Linked DNA regions of Homo sapiens: region 2 is linked to region 1. Evidence: promoter capture Hi-C in human tissues and cell types (Jung and others, 2019). All regions are on one chromosome and are shown on one strand. The core of a region is centred on a gene start or on the middle of the fragment in contact, and the rest is flanking DNA. Distances in the headings are between cores, read along the strand shown. Region 1 holds the start of PPP1R3G (protein phosphatase 1 regulatory subunit 3G). Region 2 has its middle 71 kb from the start of MIR5683.

Region 1 (6,290 bases), core at 857-3,356:
AAACGTCTTAATTCGGAGGGGGACGGAACACTTTCTACAGAACATTTTAAAGCACATGGGAAGTTTGGGCCCTTTCGCAGTAGAGAGGAAGGAACGAAGGGGAGGAATTTGTAGGCTGTTGTTTAAGGATTGTTAAAGTGCGCACATCATCAGCTGACAAAGATCGGCCGACTGCCAATGCCTCCCCAAACTCACGAAAGCCAAAATTCAGAGTACAGCGTAAAAGGGGGTGCGAGTGGCCTTTACTTTTATAAAGGACATTTGTACACAATGTCGCACAATAAACAACGTCAAGTCTGGGCACACATTACCCACATCTCAGTCAAAAGAAAAGGGTGGCCTGGCCCAGCCCCGAAGGGTTTTCTCTGAGAAATAGGTTGGGGTGTAAAGGTCCCACGCGTGCACCCACAGTCCGTGGCACCTTCCTCTGGTGCACCGTGGCAGGACGCTTTGTTCTTTCCCTAGGGGTCTCCAGCAAACTGCAAGGGCTACAATATGATATTTAGAGTTAAAAACCAATCCCAAGGCCTTAGAACCATGCCCGGGAGTTGGGAGCCTTTTTCTTGGAGGCAGCTGCTCCGGGCCTTGGAAGTTTCTTCCTATTCTGACGCAGGCTGGGAATTCTAGAGGCCTTGTAGGAAGGTCAAACGGACGAGAAGACTGAGGTCAGAGGCTTTCGGAGCATTGCCCGGGCTCTCTAAGCTCGCTCACTTGTCTGCGGGGGTGCGAGTCGACGGTTCAAAGTCTCCCTCCTTTCCCTCCACGCGCCCCTCACGCCAGACTCGCCACGCTCAGCAAAGCGTCCCAGCAAGTTCCTTGAGGCGGCAGCCCGAGCTCCACGTGCTAATCAACCCCGCCCCACGGCTCTTCGAAACTCTCCAGGCTCAGAGCGCGTCCGCAGGGCGCGCGTAGCGCAGCGTGTAGTTGGCGCCCGCGTTGTTGTCCCAGTACTCGCCCTGCGCGCAGCGGTAGCAGACAGCGAAGTGGACCGCGACGCCGCGCTCGTCGGCGTCCTCTTCGTCCTCAGGCTGCAGGCCCGGGGGCAGGCACAGCGAGAAGTGGAAGCACTCGGCGCCTGGCTCTTTCTTGGCATCCCCGGACCCTGGCTCGGAGGCCCCAGACGGTGCCTCTGGCTGCTGTGGCTCCAGCGGCTCGGGCTGCAGCTCAGCCGGCACGTCCAGGAAGGAGCGCCACTCGGTAAAGGTGTAGCGCACGGTCACGGCCCTGGGCCCAGGGCAGCTGAGCACCCGGCCGGAGCCCTTCACCTCAGCGCCCGAGGCCGTCGAGCACTGCACGCGCTCCAGGCACACGCGCTGCCGCTGCAGACGCTCGGCCGCGGCGCTCGGCCCCGGGAGCTGGAAGAGCGGCCGGAGCCGGGAAGGCGGCGCTGAAAGGGGCGCGGCCACTGCCGCCGCGGCCAGCAGCCCCCCGAGCTGCTCCAGGTCCTCGGCACGCATAGGGAAGCTTCGGAGGCGCGAGAGCACGGCGGGCGGCACCTGCGGCTCCTCCGCCTCGCTGAAGTGCTTCACGCTGGCCAGGCTTAGCCCCAGCGTGTCCGCGAACTGCACCCGCTTCTTGCACTTGGCGCAGCAGCCGCCCGGGCCGAGCTGTGCGTCCTCCGCCCCCTCGCCGCCCAGTGCCACCGCCTGTTGCTGCTGCTGCTGCAGGAACTTGGCCGCCTGCAAGATGGGGTCGGCGGGCAAGGAAAAGGAGCGCGCGCGGCAGCGGCGGCGGCATTCCAGCAGCTCCTCCTGCTCCTGGGGGGCGGCCTCTTCCTTCGGGGACAGGGGCCTATCCCCTAGCTGAGCGTCAGGACTCGGGGTCTCCGAAGCGCCACCGCCGTCGCCGCCACCCTGCACACAGGGGACCACCGGGGCGGGCAGCTCCTCGGCCGGCGGGGCCTCTCGGAAGGGCGCTGGTCCCGGCGCCTCCAAACTTAGCCGCGCCCCTATGGGCTCCATGACGCCGTTCGCCCCTGGACTTGCTCGGGCCGAACCGGGCCCCTCTGGAGACTTAACTAACTCCTCGGGCCGTGGAAGGAGCGCAGGGCTGCAGTTCAGGCTCGCCCTCCCCGAGGCGAGTCGCCCCAGGCTCGACAAGACAACGTAGTTCCACTTTGGAGCCTCCGGCTTTTAGCTGCGGCTGCCCAGGGCGAAGTGGGAGGAGGATGCGGGCCTGGGGCCGGCTCCGGGGCCACGCCGCCTCCCGGTTGAACCTGCCCGCGACGGGGGAGGGCCGGGGGCGGGGAGGCGCGGCCGCTGGGACACCTGGAAGCCGTGTTCCCGAGTGCTCCGGTGGAATGCGGGGGGCGACTTTCTGTCGTTCGCGGGCTCCCTGCAGCCCTCACCCGCACCCCCGGCGGGGCTCGCGTCTGTTCCGCTTCTTGAGTGCCTCGAAGTGGGGGTGCAGAGCTCGCGCTCAACCTTCAGAGACCCCCACGTGCACAAAGTCTTCCTGCCCATGAACTTGGCCTGACGGCTCTGCCCCCAGAGGGTCACTGAGCGCTCTCCTCTTGGCTGCCTCACGGGCTGGGGAGTCCCCGGTGCAGCGCGCAACTGGGGAAATCTTGCCTACGCAGAGGCTGGAAGGAGGCCCATTCCGCGCCGCCGGAGAGCGGGGAGCGCATCCCTTCCCTTCTGCTCCTGCTTTCCCCAAACTTCAGGGCGCCCCGGGTTCCAATCCCACTCGGAAGCCTGACTCGGTCAGGCGCGCTCCGCTCTGCTCTTCCGAAAGCCGGGAGGCAGGAGCCGCCGCCCCCATCTGCCCAGTGGCGGCGCGGGGTGGGCTGCGGCCAGACTGGGGCGGGGACCGTGTGGGGACGCGCCGGGGAGCGGCCATGGCCCGCAGCCGAGAGCGGCCGGAGGCCATTCGCGCCAGGCCCGGGAGCACGTCCCGCCCCTCCCCCTGTCCCGCCCGACGCGCCCGCGAGTCCGCGCCCCGGGATCCCGCAGGGAGGGCGGAGAGGGGGCCCCGTGGGGCCGGCGCCCACGCGGCACGCACCACCTCCCACCGCAACCGGACGCCAGCGCCCCAAGCACCCTCCCCGCCCACCGGGAGTGGGGGCGTGGCCCGCGCCGGACTGCGCTGTCACCGCCCTGCTGCTCCGGCCTTGCCAGGGGCCAAGGCCCGAACCTGAGGCCGGGGAGGGGTGGGGAAGCGCGTCGTGGTACCTAGGGATTGGGGGAACGTCTAAAAGTGGTGTTTTTCTTGTTTTGGTTTTAAGGCCACCCTGAGGGCCATCTAAGTCAGTGATTCTACTTCAGCATGCACGGACATCACTCGGGGGCCCGTTGTCACATCACAGGGCCCCACTCCCAGAGTTTCCTTCTTTCTAACTTTTTCGAGATAGGGGTCTTGCTATGCTGCCCAGGTTGGTCTCAAATTCCCGGCCTCAAGCAGTCCTCCCGCCTCAGCCTCTAAGGTAGCTGGGATTACAGGCGCCCCCCACTGCTCCCAGCTCCCTAGCGTTTGTGACTCAGTGGGCTTGGGCTGGGGCCTGGAAGTATTTCTAACAAGGGGATGCTGATGCTGGGCTCTGGGGACCGTATTTAAACCTATGTGGATGTGTATTCAGTTACTTATATAGAAAGTTGGGGATTCTAGAAACAGAACCACTAATTAAGAAACGTAATTAATTGGGGCTTCATAACTAAAACATGTCATGGTTTGGCAGAACTGAAAGGGGCCAGGGTTTTAGCCATGTTGGCAGAGGGCAGGCAAAAGAGATGGTGGGTGAGGAGCGTGTTAAGAGCTTACATTGATTGACTGAGCACCTACAGGATGTCCTGTCCATGAAATAGGAATCACATCATTCCTGCCTACATATAGGACACAACACTGCAGAAAGATTTCTCATCGCCAAGGCCCCACAGGGTGGCTTTCATGGGATTTGAAGCCAGGCAGCTTAGAGGAAACATTTCCCCCATCACTACTAAGCCTGGGCTGGGAGTGATGTCCTGTAAAGGGGGCCCTGCCGGTCCCCTTGCTGGACTCTTGCTGGTCATTTTATGCCCAGTGTGGAATTCCATGACTGTGTCTTGACTTGGGCATGGCATCTCCAAGAGGCCCCAGGCGCACACGGCCTGTCTTCCTGCAGCAACTCTGATTTCGGGAAGGACATTGCTTTTACATTTAAATACACATTGCTACATTATGGAGTTAAATACAAAATTCACAAGCTATTTTAAAGATAAAATAAGACTTCAAAGAGATTTTGAGGTGGTGGCGACCCTTTGGGCTACAACCCTCACGGGGGCACATGCTCACTCCAGGACAGAGAAGGAGGTGAGGGAGGTGCTGGGGCATAGAATTTAAGGAGGCATCACTCTCAGGGTCATGCAGGTGCACTGGTCCCAGCCCCGGCCCACCCTCCTCTGTGCGGTGGAAATGCTAGAGGTCCCACCCCCGGGGAGCTCTCAGTGCGTGGGAGGGGCCAACACTATACAAACTCAGCCCCTGTGGCCAATGCTGAGAAGGTGGTATCTGACCTGGTCAGGAGGCCTGTGAGGAAGGTGAGGTGGAAGGAACAGCTCGGACTGCAAGGAAGAACGTGCTGGGCCACGCAGAGGCTCTGTTGGAGGGAGTGTCAGGGGGCTGGACTGGAAGAAGGCCAGGGTGGCCTGAGGGCAGAGAGCACAGAGGAACTGGCGGAGCTGAGGATGGGAGGGGACAGCCACTCAACCTTGAGCAATGAGAGGCCGTCAAAAGGTTTTGAGTCATGAATGTGACTAACCAGATTTAAATTTTGAAAAGATCATTCTGGATACAGGACAAAGAGCAAATTACTGGGGACAGAAACAATGTGAGTGAGCCCCATAGGAGGCTGTTGCCATTGTTGTGGTGAAGGGTGATCATACTTAAGAGATGATGGTTGTGGGGTGGACAAATCTGAGCGCTATTTAGGAGTGAAAATCAATGTAGCACACTTATGGCCCCAAGTGGGGGTAGGTGCAGGGAGGCAGGGGGAGGGAGGTGCCTTAGGATTTGGACTTGAGCTGTTGGGTAGACAGTAGCAGTCACTGGGGCAGGGACCCCCAGAAGAGGAATAGAGGGAGGGCAAGATCATGAATTCTGTTTTGACCAGGTTGAGCTTCTCTGGTTCTTACCAACACCAAGTGGTGTCTAACACCAGTTCTCCAACAGGGTGTCCAATAATTCAATTCTGACATTATCTACCTGGAGCTAGTGTCTGTCTCCACAGCTTAGAGGCTCAGTCCCACAAGACGGCCCCCACTTCAGAAGCCACTTGCAAACGGGGTGCCCAGGCTGCCTGCATTTCTGCCCCTCCAGCTACAAATTAGTGTTCCCACAACCCATCCCCAGCTTCCATATGACTCACGGAACTCAGGAAAACACTTTGCTTGAGTTCACCAGTTTATTATAAAGAAGAAAACTCAGGAACTGGCAAAGGGAAGAGATAGAAGACAGAGTGTGCGATGGGCATGGGACTTCCAGGGCCCCTCTGGGTGCACCAGCCTCCAGGGTCTCCACATGCTCCCCACCCAGAAGCCCCACCAGCCTTGCTCAGTCTGCAGCCCCTGCCCCTTTCTGGAGGTCAGTGGGTGGAGTTAAAAGTTCCAGTCCTCTAATCACTTGGTGTTTCTGGTACCCAGCCCATCTTGAGGCTGTCTAGAGAGCCCACTCTCAGTCATCTCATTAGCATAAATTCAGGTGTGATCAAAAGGGACTCTTTATAAAAAACAATTATGTTACAACAAAATAACACTAACAATGTAAGTAATAACAAATGTTCTATCAGAAAATTCCAAGAGTTTTAGCCTTTCTATTTCAGGAACCAAGGACAAAGACCAAATGTCTATTTTTATTATACTACAGGAGGTCTAAAGCTGAGAAGGGAAGAGGGCCCAGGACTGAGCTTTGAGCAGCCCTGATGTTCCCAGGTCAGGAGGAGGAGGATGAGCCTGCAACAGGGATAGAGAATGAACAGCCAGAAGGGTTGGAGGGAATGGAAGAGGGTTGTTCTCAGAAGCCAAGGAAGGACTTCAGAAGCAGAAACGGTGTGCACCCACCTTGCAGCCCATGGGGACTTCGGGTCCTCCCCCTTGCCTCCTGAAAGGTGCAGAAACAATGGGTGATCTCTGGCTCCCACACCACTCCTCCACTCTGGCACAATGGATGGTGGGGATGGACTGCTTTTCCAAGCTCACTGTCCCCTAAGCTTTCTCCCGGAGACAGGGCCCAGGTCTTCTCTACTCTGAGATGCAAAGCCCTGAAGTTAATAGTTAAATGATGTTAACATGTAAACTAACTTCTTGAAATTTAGACTGTGC
Region 2 (6,472 bases), core at 2,782-5,281, 1.0 Mb before region 1:
ACATGATTATCTCAATAGATGCAGAAAAGGTCTTTGACAAAATTCAACAACCCTTCATGCTAAAAACTCTCAATATATTAAGTATTGATGGGACATATCTCAAAATAATAAGAGCTATCTATGACAAACCCACAGCCAATATCATACTGAATGGGCAAAAACTGGAAGCATTCCCTTTGAAAACTGGCACAAGACAGGGATGCCCTCTGTCACCACCTCTATTCAACATAGTGTTGGAAGTTCTGGCCAGGGCAATTAGGCAGGAGAAGGAAATAAAGGGTATTCAATTAGGAAAAGAGGAAGTCAAATTGTCCCTGTTTGCAGATGACATGACTGTATATCTAGAAAACCCCATTGTGGCAGCCCAAAATCTCCTTAAGCTGATAAGCAACTTCAGCAAAGTCTCAGGATACAAAATCAATGTACAAAAATCACAAGCATTCTTATACACCAATAACAGACAAACAGAGAGCCAAATCATGAGTGAATTCCCATTCACAATTGCTTCAAAGACAATAAAATACCTAGGAATCCAACTTACAAGGGATGTGAAGGACCTCTTCAAGGAGAACTACAAACCACTGCTCAAAGAAATAAAAGAGGATACAAACAAATGGAAGAACATTCCATGCTCATGGGTAGGAAGAAGCAATATCGTGAAAATGGCCATACTGCCCAAGGTAATTTATAGATTCAATGCCATCCCCATCAAGCTACCAGTGACTTTCTTCACAGAATTGGAAAAAACTACTTTAAAGTTCATATGGAACCAAAAAAGAGCCCGCATCACCAAGTCAATCCTAAGCCAAAAGAACAAAGCCGGAGACATCACGCTACCTGACTTCAAACTATACTACAAGGCTACAGTAACCAAAACAGCATGGCACTGGTACCAAAACAGAGATATAGAACAATGGAACAGAACAGAGCCCCCAGAAATAATGCCACATATCTACAACCATCTGATCTTTGACAAACCTGAGAAAAACAAGCAATGGGGAAAGGATTCCCTATTTAATAAATGGTACTGGGAAAACTGGCTAGCCATAGGTAGAAAGCTGAAACTGGATCCCTTCCTTACACCTTATACAAAAATTAATTCAAGGTGGATTAAAGACTTACATGTTAGACCTAAAACCATAAAAACCCTAGAAGAAAACCTAGGCATTACCATTCAGGACATAGGCATGGGCAAGGACTTCATGTCTAAAACACCAAAAGCAATGGCAACAAAAGCCAAAATTGACAAATGGGATCTAATTAAACTCAAGAGCTTCTGCACAGCAAAAGAAACTACCATCAGAGTGAACAGGCAACCTACAAAATGGGAGAAAATTTTCACAATCTACTCATCTGACAAAGGGCTAATATCCAGAATCTACAATGAACTCAAACAAATTTACAAGAAAAAAACAAATGACCCCATCAAAAAGTGGGCGAAGGATATGAACAGACACTTCTCAAAAGAAGACATTTATGCAGCCAAAAAACACATGAAAAAATGCTCATCATCACTGGCCATCAGAGAAATGCAAATCAAAACCACAATGAGATACCATCTCACACCAGTTAGAATGGCAATCATTAAAAAGTCAGGCAACAACCAGTGCTGGAGAGGATGTGGAGAAATAGGAACACTTTTACACTGTTGGTGGGACTGTAAACTAGTTCAACCCTTGTGGAATTCAGTGTGGTGATTCCTCAGGGATCTAGAACTGAAATACCATTTGACCCAGCCATCCCATTACTGGGTATATACCCAAAGGATATAAATAATGCTGCTATAAAGACACATGCACACGTATGTTTATTGCAGCACTATTCACAATAGCAAAGACTTGGAACCAACCCAAATGTCCAACAATGATAGACTGGATTAAGAAAATGTGGCACATATACACCATGGAATACTATGCAGCCAGAAAAAATGAAGAGTTCATTTCCTTTGTAGGGACATGGATGAAACTGGAAACCATCATTCTCAGAAAACTATGGCAAGGAGGAAAAACCAAACACCGCATGTTCTCACTCATAGGTGGGAATTGAACAATGAGAACACATGGACACAGGAAGGGGAACATCACACTCCGGGGACTGTTGTGGGGTGGGGGGATGGGGGAGGGATAGCATTAGGAGATATACCTAATGCTAAATGACGAGTTAATGGGTGCAGCACACCAACATGGCACATGTATACATATGTAACAAACCTGCACATTGCGCACATGTACCCTAAAACTTAAAGTATAATAATAATAATAATAATAATAATAATAATAAACTTTGCTCAAATTAATCAGGGAAGACACAAATGGAAAAGCATTCCATGCTCGTGGATAGAAAGAATCAATATTGTTAAAATTGTTTAAATGGCCATACTTCCTAAAGCAATTTACAGATTAATTGCTATTCCTATCAAACTACTGATGACATAGTTTTTTTTTTTTGAGGAGGAGTCTCGTTCTGTCACCCACGCTGGAGTGCAGTGGCATGATCTCAGTTCACTGCTACCTCTGCCAGCCCGGTTCAAGCGATTCTCCTGCCTCAGCCTCCCAAGTAGCTGGGATTACAGGCACCTGCCATCATGCCTGGCTAATTTTTGTATTTTTAGTAGAGAAGGGGTTTCACCATGCTGGCCAGCTTGGTCCAAACTCCTGACCTTGGGTGATCTGCCCAGTTTGGCCTCCCAAAATGCTGTGATTACAAGCATGAGCCACTGTGCCCGGCCCCAGTGACGTTCTTCACAGATCTAGAAAAACTATTTTCAAATTCATGTGAAACAAAAAAAGGGCTCTAATAAATAAGGCAATCCTAAGCAAGAGGAATAAACCTGGCGGCATCACATTACCTGACTTCAAACTATATTACAGGGTACAGTAACCAAATCAGTGTGGTACTGGTACAAAAACAGACACATAGACCAATGGAACAGAATAGAGAGCCCAGAAATAAGGCTGCACTCCTACGACCATCTGGTCTTCCACAAAGATGACAAAAACAAGCAGCGAGTAAAGGACTTCCTATTTCATAAGTGGTGCTGGGAAAACTGGCTAGCTATACGCAGACAATGGAAACTAGAACCCTTCCTTATACCATATACAAACATCAACTAAAGACGGATTAAGGATAATATTAAAAATTATGAAATCCCTGGAAGACAACCTAGGCAATACTATTTTGGACATAGGAACTAGGAAAGATTTCAGGACAAAAACACCAAAAGCAATCGCAACAAAAGCAAAAATTGATAAATGGGATCTAATTCAAATTAGGAGCTTCTGCATAGCAAAAGAAACTATAAACAGAGTAAACAGAAAACCTACAGAATGGGAGAAAATATTTGCAGACTATGCATCTGACAAAAGTCTAATATCCAGCATCTATAAGGAACTTAAATGAATTTACAAGAAAAAAAGCAACCTCACTAAAAAGTGGACAAAGGACATGAACGGGCACTTTTCAAAAGTAAACATATACATGGCCAATAAGCATATGAAAAAAGGCTCAATATCACTGATAATTAGAGAAATGTACATCAAAACCACAATGAAATGTCATCTCACACCAGTCAGAATGACTATTATTAAAAAAAAACAAACAGGTGGTGGAAAGGCTATGGAAAAAAAAAGAATGCTTACCTACTGTTGACGGGAGTGTAAATTAGTTCAACCATTGTGGAAAGCAGTGTGGCAATTCCTCAAAGAGCTAAAAACAGAAATAGCATTCAACTCAGCAATCCTATAACTGGGTATGTACCCAAAGAAATATGAATCATTCTGCCACAAAGACACATGCATGCATGTATTCATTGCATCACTATTCACAATAGCAAAGATGTGGACTCAATCTAAATGCCAATCAATGGTAGACTAGATAAAGAAAATATGGTACATATAAACTGTGGAATACTACACAGCCATAAAAAAGAATAAATTTATGTCCTTTGCAGGAGTATGGATGAAGCTGGAGGCCATCATTCTTAGCAAACTAATGCATGAAAAAAAAACCCAAATACCACGTGTTCTCACTTATAAGTGGGAGCTAAATGATGAGAACACATGAACACAAAGACAGAAACAATAGTCATTGGGGCCTACTTGAGGGTGGAAGGTGAGAGGAGGGAGAAGAACAGAAAAAAACAACTATTGGGTACTAGATTTAGTACATGGGTGATGAAATAATCTGTACAACAAACGCCCATGACACGAGTTTACTTGTATAACAAACCTGCATGTCTAACCCTGAATCTAAAATAAAAGTTAAAGAAAAAAAAATTAAATAGCAAATAGACAATGTTTTAAAATCAAAATATCATATGATGATTCTCAGAGAATACTAATAAAATTGATAAATCCTTACTAGATTGGTCAAAGAAAAGGGAGAGAAGTCACAAATTATTAATAACAGAAAAGAAAATGGAGACATAACTATAGATCTTACAGATAAAGGAAAATAAAGAAGCGGGGAAAACAACTTCATGACAAAAAATTTAACAACTTATATGAAATGAACAAATACATTGAAAAACACAAATTACCAAACTGACTTGAGAAGAAACAAAATCTAAATAACCCTATATTTTCTCAAAAACTTTAATTTGTAAGTAAGCCTTTTCAAACACACACAAATAAATCCAGACCATTGACTTTACCAATAAATTTCATCAAACATTCACAAATTCTACACAAACTTTTTTAGAAAACATAGTAAAATAGAATACTTCTCAACATATTTTATGAGGCCAGCAATAGCCTGATATGAAAACCAGACAAAGAAATTTTTAAAAATAAAATTGTAGACCAATATCCCTCATAAATATAGACACAAAAATCCTTAACAAAATATTAGTAAATCAAATCCAGAAATATACAAAGAAGGTAATATATCACAACTAAGTAGAGTTTTTTTAAGGAATGCAAATTTGCTTTAACATTTGGGAATCAATCAATGTGCAAATCTACACATTAATATAATTAAGGAGAAACAACAAATGATGGCGGGTTGCAGTGGCTCACGCCTGTAATGCCAGCACGTTGGGAGGCCAAAGTGGGCAGATCACCTGAGGTCGGGAGTTCGAGACCAGCCCGACCAAAATGGAGAAACCCTGTCTCTACTAAAACTACAAAATTAGCCGGGCATGGTGGCAGGTGCCTGTAATCCCAGCTACTTGGGAGGCTGACACAGGAGAATCGCTTGAACCTGGGAGGCGGAGTTTGCAGTGAACTGTGATCGTGCCATTGCACTCCAGCCTGGGCAACAAGAGCAAAACTACGTCACAAAAAAAACAAACAAACCAGAAACATATGATCATCTCGCTAAAGACAGAAAAGGCACTTGGCCAAACTAAACCCCTGGTAATATGTATATATTTTTTTAATTTGCAAAGTAGGAATGGGACAAACTTCCTCAACCTTATAAAAACTCACATGGGGCCGGGCACGGTGGCTCACGCCTGTAATCCCAGCACTTTGGGAGGCCGAGGCAGGTGGATCACGAGGTCAGGAGATCAAGACCGTCCTGGCTAACACGGTGAAACCCGTCTCTGCTAAAAATACAAAAAATTAGCCCGGCGTAGTGGCGGACACCTGTAGTCCCAGCTACTCGGGATGCTGAGGCAGGAGAACGACGTGAACCCTGGAGGCAGAGCTTGCAGTGAGCCGACATCACGCCACTGCACTCCAGTCTGGTCAACAGAGCGAGACTCCGTCTCAAAAACAAAAGCGAAAACAAAAAACAAAACTCATATGGAACAGAATAACTTACAATGAAAGATTAAACTCTCCCCTATTATAATTGGAAACGAAGCAAGTATATCCTCTCTTGCTGCATCTATTTAACATTGTAAATGGGGGTCCTAACTTGGGCAATAAAAAATAATAAAAGGCATATAAATTAAAACAGAAAAAGTAAAAATGCCTTTATTCATAGATGACATGACTTCCGCTTACAAAATCCCAAAGAATTTGCAAATTAAAAACCTACTAAATCTGTTAAGTGAATTTAATAAAGTCATAAGATACAAGGTCTTTATACAAAAATGAAATGTGTTTCTATACACTAGCAAGAAAATTTCTAAAATAAAATGTTTCTAAAATCTATTTACAGTCACTTTTAAGGCATAAGATAATTAAAGATAAATTTCACAAAATATAGAAAGATCTCTACACTAAAAACTATAAGACAGTATTGAGGAAAAATTAAAGACCTAAATGATGGAAAGATATACAATGTTCATGGTTTGGAAGTCTTAATATTCTTAAATCAATTCTCCTCAAGTTGATCTATATATTGAATTCAATTTCAATAAAAATTCCTTATGGGATCACATAGAAATTCACAAGCTGATGCTAAAATTTATATGGCAATGTAAAGGACTTAAAATCCACAAAACCATCTTGAAAGAAAGAACAAAGTTAGAATATATATTTATATAATCTGATTTTAAGGCTGACTATATAGCTACAGTAATCAA

Evidence for each region. The method cuts DNA at HindIII sites, captures the fragments that hold promoters and counts their contacts. A contact is called where the count stands out against the background at its distance.
Region 2: a contact is called between a fragment that was not itself captured here and the fragment with the promoter of PPP1R3G in region 1, in 1 of the 25 tissues and cell types used here (aorta).

Annotation. Positions count from the first base shown.
Region 1 is chr6:5,081,157-5,087,446 of GRCh38, reverse strand. PPP1R3G (protein phosphatase 1 regulatory subunit 3G) reads right to left here and starts at 2,106. Exons shown (of 1, transcript NM_001145115.3): 1 at 1-2,106. The coding sequence starts at 1,961. The coding sequence ends at 885. The region is part of intron 3 of LYRM4-AS1 (LYRM4 antisense RNA 1); the gene reads right to left. It also overlaps a transcript of LYRM4 not described here. RefSeq lists silencers at 1,355-1,584, 1,615-1,664, 1,805-1,904, 2,155-2,334, 2,745-3,024 and 1 more and an enhancer at 1,135-1,824. The HindIII fragment of the contact is 9,723 bases long and covers 75-6,290 here.
Region 2 is chr6:6,095,473-6,101,944 of GRCh38, reverse strand. No RefSeq gene overlaps it. Among named protein-coding and RNA genes, the nearest start is that of MIR5683, 71 kb to the left of the region's middle. The HindIII fragment of the contact is 6,738 bases long and covers 663-6,472 here.